2 separate regions of the Homo sapiens genome follow, and region 2 is linked to region 1. Evidence: promoter capture Hi-C in human tissues and cell types (Jung and others, 2019). All regions are on one chromosome and are shown on one strand. The core of a region is centred on a gene start or on the middle of the fragment in contact, and the rest is flanking DNA. Distances in the headings are between cores, read along the strand shown.

Region 1 (5,291 bases), core at 1,411-3,910:
TCTGGGAGGGAAAATGAAGGGTCTGTCCTTCCCAGAGCTAAGGGGGAACCAGACTCCTTCCAATCCCCTCCCCCTCACCCGTTCAGGCGGCTTCTCACTCGCCTTCGCAGTCAGGCCATCTCCTGCAAAGGAAGCAGAAGGCAGCCTAAATGTTGAGCCTGCCCTCACCACCCTCTCCCCGGCCCAACCCCCGCCTCCATTCCTGGGGAAGAACTTACTCAAAACTGAAAGGGAAAACTCGAGTGCCTGTGGCTTCTTGGGGCCCCTCTCAGGGTTACCTCAGGCTCTGTACTAAGGGTGGGGGGGTGCACGTGCAGCTATTCCATGAAAAAAAAAAAATCTATCCTTCCCACCAGCTTTCTGTCCCAATCCTTGGGGGTTAAGGAAACACAGGTAATATACCTTTCATTAAGAATTTATATTTTACCAATGAAAAACACACACAACCACCCAAAGGTAGCAAAAGGAAAAGGAAGCATCAGTGTATGGGTAGCTTCCCCTGGATTCAGGTGGTTATATAAGCCCTAAGACCCTCGTCACAGCCTGATAGAGGCACACCACTAGGCAGAAGAGGGGAGACACTAGAGCCTCTCAAGTCAAGGTTGTCCCTCCCCTATCAGAGACGCAATCCTAGACCCTGCATTTCTATCGCTCTGCTGAAATCCTTATGCTGTTAGGGGCTCCAGAACCTAGTTACCATTCATCAAACCCAGAAATCCCACTCCCATCTAGAACCAAAAAGCTGTAAAGGTCTTAGAACCAAGAAGCCTGGTGTACTCCCCCAAATCCTGAAGGAAGGACTCTGGCACCAAAAGCCCACTGGGGTAGGAAAAAGGGAACCCTTCCCACCAAATTCACTCCTCCCAACCTACGCTCCCTGAAACCTTACCCCATTCCTCCCCCACAGCCTGTGCCCACCCCTACTTTCCTTAATCTTCCTCTACACACCACCCCACTCCTCCCTCGTAAACCCCAAGTCCTTCCCCACACACATCCCTACACTTATCTCTCCACCCTCCTCCTCCCCACTACTTCCCAAAGCACATAGCCACCCCTCCTTACCACCACCCTCTCCCAGCCCTGATTCTCCAGATAATTAGGCAACCTACCTGGCAAGGAAGGATGTGCAGGGGGGCTAGAGCCCCCAGGTTTGGTCTGAGAACTGTTGATTCCATCCCCCAGAGTCTCTCCCACTGAAGGGCTAGGCGGGGCATTTGGGCTCTGTGGCTGCCCTTGGGGAAGCTCCTCCTCCTGCCCAGGGGAGCCCCTTCTTGCAGTAGCTATGGAGGTGGTCTCCTCCTCTTCAATATGTGGGGACTGCAGTGTTATTGGAGAATCTGGAGCCAAAGGCTCTAGTAGCCCCTCAGGTGAACAGGAATTTGCCCCAGCCCCTGGATCAGGTGGTACCACCTCAGGGGTCTGGCCCCCTGGTCCAGGCTCTAGGGTCTGATCTCCTGCATCCCATGCCAGGGTTCCCTCAGGACCGTGGTCCACCTCCGGGGGAGAGGGGGCTTTATAGAGCAGCCCCCCCAGCCCCAGCAACTCAGTGGCTCCATCCAGGACTCCAGGGTCTTTTTCCAGGCCAGCAGGGGTATCAAGCAGGTCCAGGGCTCCCGAGGATGGAGAAGGGCCAGGGGGGGCCCATCCTCGAGTTGGGGCAGTCTGGGATTCCAGTAGATCCTCTCCAAATTCCATGTCTACTGGTAGGTCTCCAGCCAGGGGCTTCTCTGGCAGGGTCAATGGGTCAAATGGACTGGGGAAATCACTGGGGTCCATGAGTATGGCTGGATATGTACTGCAGATTAGGAGTAGAAGAGGGGGCAGTAGAGGTGGTCTTAGCCTGAATTCCTTCTTATATAGGCTCTGAGACACACCCCATCATCCACTTGGATTTCTCATGAGCAGCCCCCACCACCACAATCTACAAGCATTTCCGAAGGCTTTAGTCCTAATGACCACTCCCCCCAATACAGCGCCCCCAGTGGGGAGAGGCGTTCCCCGCCCTGGCCCCGTGCCCACACTGGCCAGGCAGTCGGTCGTTCTACCCGCCCACCCCCCTACTCGACTGCAACTCCCATTCCCTTCCCCCCTTACCTTTTACCCCCCGCAACTCAGGCTGAACGCCCCCTTAGAGTCTCCTAAGGCCGTCGCCACCAGGAGCCTTTCCCGCCCCCGCGATCTCAGTTTCTATTCCCTCCCCACTCTGCAGGAGCCCCCCAGCTCCCCAGTCTTTACCCACCCTGTCTGGCCCCACCCCCCCTCCCCGCGTTGCTAGGTCCTCCCTCGGCCCTTCCCCCGCCCCCACAAACTGCCCTTCGCAACCCCTTCCCCCCAGTTACCTTTCAGGTCGCCCACTTCCTCAGCCCCGTCCCCCTTTCCCATTGCTCCTCCAGTCCTCCCTTCTCCTGTTGCCCACCCCCAACCTCAGGCATTTACAGGAAGACATTTTGGAGCTACGATCTCTCCTTAGACCCCCCCACCACCGCCTCCCGGCTACTGCAAGATCCCGCTTGCAGGTTCGGTTCGGCTTGAGCAGGCCCGACCCCTACCTGCGGCAGGGTTAGTGCAAAGGCTACAAGCCTAGAACTGCAGACAGCGACGGCCCCGCGCTCCTTCTCTACCTCCCTCCCTAGCAGCCGGGACAGGGGTCGCGGCCCCTTTAAATGGCAGCGCCGCTCGCAGCGCCCAGCGCTCTGCACCAGGCGGGCGGGCGGTGCCAGCAACCAACCCCATTGGCTGGCTCGAGGAGGGGGCTCGCGAGACAGCGCCGGCCCCCGGCGCGAGACTCCCAGTCCAGTGGCCGCCTGGAAATTGCGGAGTGGAATGCAGCCACTAGAGACGGCGCCTGAGCCCCCGCCCGGGGCCCCGTTAGTTGAGAAGGAAAAGATAGCCTCTGGAGCTTTGAAGCCGGCCCCCCGGGAAAGGCGGCGTCCCCTTTCCACCCAAGGGCCGAGTGCGCTCACCCACAAAAAACACAGATCTACGCACCTGCTCCCCTTACCTGGCTCAAGAGTCTGGCCCCCGTCACACCCTGCTCGCCCTACCTCCTGGAGCCCACTCTACCCGTGATCCCCTCCTCTCATTCAAATGGTTCCCGGTCCCCTCCCCCTCCCCGTGTCTCTCTTAGCTTCCCACTCGTGTTCACCCCCTCGGCGTCCGCCCCCCTCAATAGTCCCTACCTACGCCATGCAGCAGGCGCCTGCCAAGATTACCCTCCCCCATCCCCACCTCTCCGGGTCCCGCCCCCTGGGCGACTGTTGGGGTAGTGAGTGACAGCGGAGGACGGGGGGAGGCAGGGACCCAGCCCTCACGTGCCCCTCCTTCCCTTGTCTGCAGCCACGGGGCCCCCAAAACAGTCTGAGAGTCAGAGTTATGGGGTATCTGAAGCTTGATCCCCAGCCACACAGGTCGGGTTAAATGGCTCTGGCTCAGTGGCAACGCCTGTGCAGTAACCGTTACTGCTTGATGACCCCCAAACCAGGTCCTGCAAAGCTACCCCCTACTCTCTCAACAGTCTTAGGGTAAGTTCTGGGATCTTCTCCCTGAGTCTTCCTGCAGGAGCTCCCTGTATTATCTATGGAGTTTTCCTCCCTCACCAGGGCTGATCTCTCTCTCTCTCTCTCTCTCTCTCTCTCTCTCTCTCTCTCTCTCTCTCTCTCTCTCTCTCTCTGTATCTCTCTCTCTCTTTCTCCTCCAGCCCCCTTTCTGTCCTTGTCTGTCTCTCTCTTCTCGCTCTCTCTCTCTCTCTCCCCCTATCTCTTTTTGTCTCCTTCTCTGCCTCTCTGCTTCTCGTGCGCACGAGCACGCAGGCGCGCTACACGCTCCCCCCTCCTGGATGGTCCTTAGCATGTGGGTGTGGCTGAGGTTAGGCTAGAGAAGTGGAGTAGGGGTAGGTGGCACTAGCGTTAAGCCTACTGCCTTTAAAAAATTGTGCCAGCATCCATTCTCAGTCCGCATTATATTAATAGTTAGAGCACTTTACAATCCCCGCTCCCCACTTCCCACCACAGCCCCTAAGGGCTGAGAGCATTTAGTAGCCGAACTACTAGAGGAGGCTCAGGCTGGAAGGAAGTCTCCTTAGGAACAGGAAGGTTTGGTATCCAGTGCCTATTCTAGCCTGCCTCGTTGACTTCTGGCCTCTCCTCCTGGCCACACAAAGCCTCTCCTGCTCTTGTAGTCCTCGGGAGTTTACCCTCCCTTTTCTCATTCCTTTTCCCAGAAACCTTATCCTTGCTAGCTCCCCACATGGCCTTGAGGTTATCTTTGCTCCCTCCTACATACAGAGATAAAAGCCAGAGTTTCTTACTTTTAGATTTCCCAAATCCAGCTTTCTCTTTGTCTTAACCAGCATTCTGTGTACCCATCTCCTACCTCCTGTTTATTTCTATTCCTGGACCTCCCCTTTGCATTTTCTGCTTGTTCCATCTCAGTTGAGCCACCTAGTTTTTTCTGTATTGCCTGCCTTCCTCAACATATACTTGAATCCTTGGCTGCTCTGCTTGTGGAGGTGCCTGGTCACTATCTTTCAAGTTGAGGGGAGCTGATCTAACGGGGTTAAGTGGTGTGTTATTAATTCTAGACGCAGTGTGGTGGCCTAAGAATGGGTTCTGGAGTCAGACCAGATTTCTAATATCAGTTCTGCCTACTTTTTAGCCAGGTGACTTTGGACAAGTGACTTGTCAAGTGAAGGGCCTTAGTTTTCTCCTCTTTAAAACAGATAAGGAAACAATCTAAATGCCCAATAATAGGGGATTTTGGTTATGCAACAGACGTAGTCATTAACAACCACATTTTAAGTCTGGCGCAGTGACTCACGCCTGTAATCCTGGCACTTTGGGATGCCAAGACGGTTGGATCCTTTGAGCCCGGGAGTTCCAAACCAGCCTGAGCAACATGGTGAAACCCCTTCTCTACAAAAAATACAAAAAATTAGCAAGGTGTGCTGGTGTGCACCTGTAGTCCCAGCTACTCAGGAGGCGGAGGTGTGAGGATCACTTGAGCTGGGAGGCAGAAATTGCAGCGAGCTCAGATGGCGCCACTGCACTCCAGCCCGGGGCGACAGACGAGGGCTCTGTCTCAAACCAAACAAAACAAAACCCCACATTAAAAAAACAAAAACAAAAAACAACTAATGGCAGACAGCACAGAGGATTTTTACGGTAGCGAAAATACTCTCATGATACTGTAATAGTGGATACTTGTAAGTATACATTTGTTCAAAGATACAGAATGTAAACACCAAGGGTGAACTAACTCTAATGTAAACCGCAGGCTTTGGTTAGTAATGATGT
Region 2 (4,756 bases), core at 546-3,045, 390 kb after region 1:
CTCCAATGCAGTAGTGACTGCTTCTTTTTGGGCTCCCACAGGACAGTCTGCACCAGCGTAGAATAGAATTTTGGATACCGGATTTTAATTTTTTTTTTTTTTTTTTTTTGAGACAGGGTCTTGCTCTGTCGCCTAAGCTGGAGTGCAATGGCATGATCTCGGCTCATTGCAACCTCTGCCTCCCAGGCTCCAGTGATCCTCCCACCTCAGCCTTCTGGATTGTAATTTTTAAAACAATTCTTTTTCCTCCACTTAAAGAATTCTTTGAAGATACAGGCTATCCCTGGTAGGTCTATATTCCCACCGTCTTGTAAGATTCTCAGTGATTCTCTCCAAGGACTTGGTTTCAGGCCCTGGGGCTCGGCTCCTCATTCTCCCAGATCACTTTCTTCTGGTCTCAGTTACCTCAGGCTAAGGGACTGGACTTAGAGATGACTTCAACACCAGAGGGGTGGCGCAGGCAGTAAGTCCTGCTTTCACTCAGCTGGATCAACAAAAGACACGATATCTGGACTGCATGCCTGTATCTGTCACTTCCTGTATGATCATGGACAGATCACAGTCTTTAAGGCTGTTTCTTCCTCAGTAAAATGAGCAAAATAATAATAGCTACCCTCAGAGACTGTTGTGTAGTTACTGAGAGACGAAGTGAAAGTGCTGCACTCTAATAACCTCCAAAGAACCATGTTAGTTAAATGTGGCACAGAAAAATAGATGAAAAAAAATTAAGTTCCTAATTTAGGAACTTGTTTATACATATTAAATCCTCTCTATTTCTTTCCCAGTCTTTAAACTAACTTCATGCTTAATTCTGCCTCAACCTGCCTTCATCTGCAGGACATTGTCCTCCCCTCTCCATGTCATCTTTTTTTTACCCCCTTCCCAGATCTTATCTCCAGTGAGAGCAAAGCACCATCTTCCTTTCATGACACAATCAACTCGATCTGAGAGTTACAGATCTGATCAAAGCTCACCTCCTCCATTTCCTAGCTGCGTGACTTTGGACTGGTTACTTAAATTCTCAGTGCCTCAGTTTTTTCATTTCTATGGCCTATGTATGTGATGAGGATTAAATGAGACCCTATAACTGTTCCTTTCAATTTCAGTCATCTCCATCTTGACTCTCATTCAGCCTCCCACACATTTAATCGCACTTAGGATGCCTTCTTGTTCACTCAATCATTGTTTCGTTTTCAAGATTTTAAACTTGGAAATCCTCTTATTTGAGTATAACCTCTGGTTCTTCTTCTTTTTTTTCTTTGAGACAGAGTTTTGCTCTTGTTGCCCAGGCTGGAGTGCAATGGCATGATCTCGACTCACTGCAACCTCTGCCTCCCAGTTTCAAGCGATTCTCGTGCCTCAGCCTCCCGAGTAGCTGGGATTACAAGCATGCACTACCATGCCAGACTAATTTTTTGTATTTTTAGTAGAAACAGGGTTTCACCATGTTGGCTAGGCTGGTCTCAAACTCCCGACCTCAGGTGATCCACCTGCCTTGGCCTCCCAAAGTGCTGGGATTACAGGCGTGAGCCACCTTGCCCGGCCAACCTCTGGTTCTTTCAATTCTCTTCCTTCCACCAAACTCACTCTGTCTCTAGCTTGGGTTCCAGCCCCTTGAACCATTCTCATTCTCCCAGACCATCTTTTTCTGGTCTCAGTCACCTCTCCGCCAAGACAGAACTTCGTGGCCAGACGTTTCACTGTGCGCTCACTGCTACTTTGCATTTCTACACTCCCTGTCTCTGGGTGGTCTCCAGGCCCAGATAACCCCCTGCTTACTGTTTTAACTTCCAAATGTCCAAGTTTGCAGGAGAAAAAGTCCTTCCCTCTTATGCTATGGGACCACTCTCATTACCAGAAAGCCTCTCTGCCTCTCCTTGGCCTCCTGCTGTCATGGCTGAGGAAGAATCATCCCCTTCCTTGCCAACAGTGTCCTCTGACTCTCACCCCAGAGCACTACCTCCAGGCTTTGCTCCAACCATGATCTTACATTTCATTTGCCTCTTCAGTTGTTCTTTCTACATCTCCTTCCCCTCTGCTTATAATACACTCAGATCTCCTCCATTCTATAGACACCTCAGCTCCACGCCAGATACCACCCTATGCTGACCTATTCCTTCATTAAACTTTTTTTTTTTCAAGACAGAGTCTCACTCTGTCACCCAGGCTGGAGAACAGTGGCACGATCTTGGCTCATTGCAACCTCCACTTCCTGGGTTCAAGTGATTCTCCTGCCTCAGCCTCCCATGTAGCTGGGATTACAGGAGCAAGCCACCATGCCCAGCTAATTTTTGTCTTTTTAGTAGAGACGGGGTTTCACCATGTTGGGCAGTCTGGTCTCAAACTCCTGACCTCGTGATCCGCCCGCCTCAGCCTCCCAAAGTGCTGGGATTACAGGCATGAGCCACCTTGCTGGCCCATTAAACTCTTTCAAAGGATAATCTATACATGCTCCTCAACCTGCTCACCGACTATTCACTTGTTAATCCCTTGCAATCTGACTTCTACTCCCACCACTCTACTTGATCACCAACCTAACAACCACTAACATGATGACCTCTCGGCTCCCAAATTCAGACGGCAGTCTTCATCCTCTGTCTAGCACTTGCCACCCTGGCCCACCTGTCTTTTTTGAAACACTCTCCTTCCTTGATCTCTACTGCTGCTTTATTGTGGTTTTACCTCTGTCTATTCTCTTCCTCAAGCATGGTGCTCCTCCCTCGACACCACTCACTTGGTGAGCACCTCTACTCTCATGGTTTTGATGGGGCCTTGGCAGACTTTTCCTAAATATCAGAGAGTAAATCTCTTTGGCTTTGTGTGCCAAGAGGCAAAATCAAGGCAATTCTGTAGGTCTTTATATAAACATTTAAAATGTAAAAACTGGCCGGGCACGGTGGCTCATGCCTGTAATCCCAGCACTTTGGGAGACCGAGGTAGGCGGATCACCTGAGGCCAGGAGTTCAAGACCAGCTTGGCCAACATGGAGAAACTCTGTCTCTACTAAAAATACAAAAAATTAGCTGGGTTTGATGGTGTGTGCCTGTAGTCTCAGCTGCTTGGGAGGCTGAGGCACAAGAATCACTTGAACTTGGGAGGCAGAGGTTGCAGTGAGCTGAGGTGGCACCACTGCATTCTAGCCTGGGTGATAGAGTGAGACTCTGACTCAAGAAAAACAAATATATATATATATATATATATATATATATATATATATATATATATATATGTCTCCTGTTTTCAGCTTGCAAGCCATCTAAAAACAGGTAGTTGGTTTGATTTATCCTATGGGCTGTAGTTTGTTGATCCCTAGTTTATTTATTTATTTATTTATTTTATTTATTTATTTATTTTGAGATGGAGTCTCAGTCTGTTGCCCAGGCTGGAGTGCAGTGGCATGATCTCGGCTCACTGCAATCTCCACCTCCCAGGTTCAAGCGATTCTCCTGCCTCAGCCTCCTGAGTAGCTGGGATTACAGGCTCGTGCCACCACATCCGGCTAATTTTTGTATTTTTAGTAGGGGGGGTGGTTTCACCATGTTGGTCAGGCTGGTCTCGAACTCCTGACCTTGTGATCCGCCCACCTCGGCCTCCCAAAGTGCTGGGATTACAGGCATGAGCCACTGCACCTGGCTTGTCGACCCCTAGTTTCAATCACCACCTCTAAAGAGAAAACTCCCCAATTGGTACCTTCTCACCTCTTTCTAGAATTCCTGACCTGTGCTTCTAATTGCCTACAGGGCAGCTATACTTGCTCTCCTACACTCACCTCAAATTTAATATGTTCGAGGCAAAAATTTCTCTCTCCGCAAATCACTTCCTTTTCCTGAATTCCCTATTTTTGCTAGTGGTGCCATAATTCTCTCAGTCACTCAGGTCTAAAATCTGTCACGTCTGCCTTCTTCTTTCTCTCTAAACTATTGGTGGTGTTACTTCCTAAATGTCTCTTGAAAACTTCACCTCTCCTCCAGTCCATAGTCTGTTGTGGTCCAAGCCCCCAGCATCTCTTGCCTGGACAACTGTCACAGGCAAGATGACTTCCTTTTTTCCAGAGTGGAGATAGGGAGAATTCACTGGTCTCCCTATCTCCACTCTGTGCTCCCATCTAATAAGACGGGGGTTTCACCATGTTGGCCAGGCTGGTTTCGAACTCCTGAGCTCAAGGGATCCACCAGCCTCGGCCTCCCAAACTGCTGGGATTACAGGTGTGAGCCACTGCATCAGGCCCTTTAGGAGGTTTTTGATTATTGATTCAGTCTCCCTACTATCGGTCTGTTCAGATTTTCTGTTTCTTCATGATTCAGTTTTGGTGGACTGTGTATTTCTGGGAATTTACCAATTTCTTCTTGGTTATCTAATTTGTTGGCATACAATTGTTCATAATTTTCTCTTAAATTCCTCTTATTTCGGCCGGGCACAGTGGCTCACGCCTGTAATCCCAGCACTTTGGGAGGCCGAGGTGGGTGGATCATGAGGTCAGGAGATCGAGACCATCCTGGCCAACATGGTGAAATCCCGTCTCTACTAAAAATACAAAAATCAGTTGGGCGTGGCGGCGCATGCCTGTAATCCCAGCTACTCGGAAGGCTGAGGCAGGAGAACAGCTTGAACCCGGGAGGCGTAGGTTGCAGTGAGCGGCGATCGCACCACTGCACTCCAGCCTGGTGACAAAGCTAGACTCCATCTCAAAAAAAAAAACAAAAACAAACAAAAAAAACCCTCTTATTTCTGTGACATTTGTTATAATGTCTCTTTC

What was found. The method cuts DNA at HindIII sites, captures the fragments that hold promoters and counts their contacts. A contact is called where the count stands out against the background at its distance.
Region 2: a contact is called between a fragment that was not itself captured here and the fragment with the promoter of ZMYM3 in region 1, in 1 of the 25 tissues and cell types used here (pancreas).

The regions. Positions count from the first base shown.
Region 1 is chrX:71,251,480-71,256,770 of GRCh38, forward strand. It overlaps ZMYM3 (zinc finger MYM-type containing 3), which reads right to left and starts at 2,661. Exons shown (of 25, transcript NM_201599.3): 1 at 2,550-2,661; 2 at 1,110-1,795; 3 at 79-122. The coding sequence starts at 1,776. It overlaps LOC105373247 (a long non-coding RNA gene), which reads left to right and starts at 3,329. Exons shown (of 4, transcript XR_938434.2): 1 at 3,329-3,521. RefSeq lists silencers at 3,157-3,206, 3,227-3,276. The HindIII fragment of the contact is 7,971 bases long and covers 42-5,291 here.
Region 2 is chrX:71,637,541-71,642,296 of GRCh38, forward strand. No RefSeq gene overlaps it. Among named protein-coding and RNA genes, the nearest start is that of CXCR3, 21 kb to the left of the region's middle. The HindIII fragment of the contact is 8,298 bases long and covers 1-4,756 here.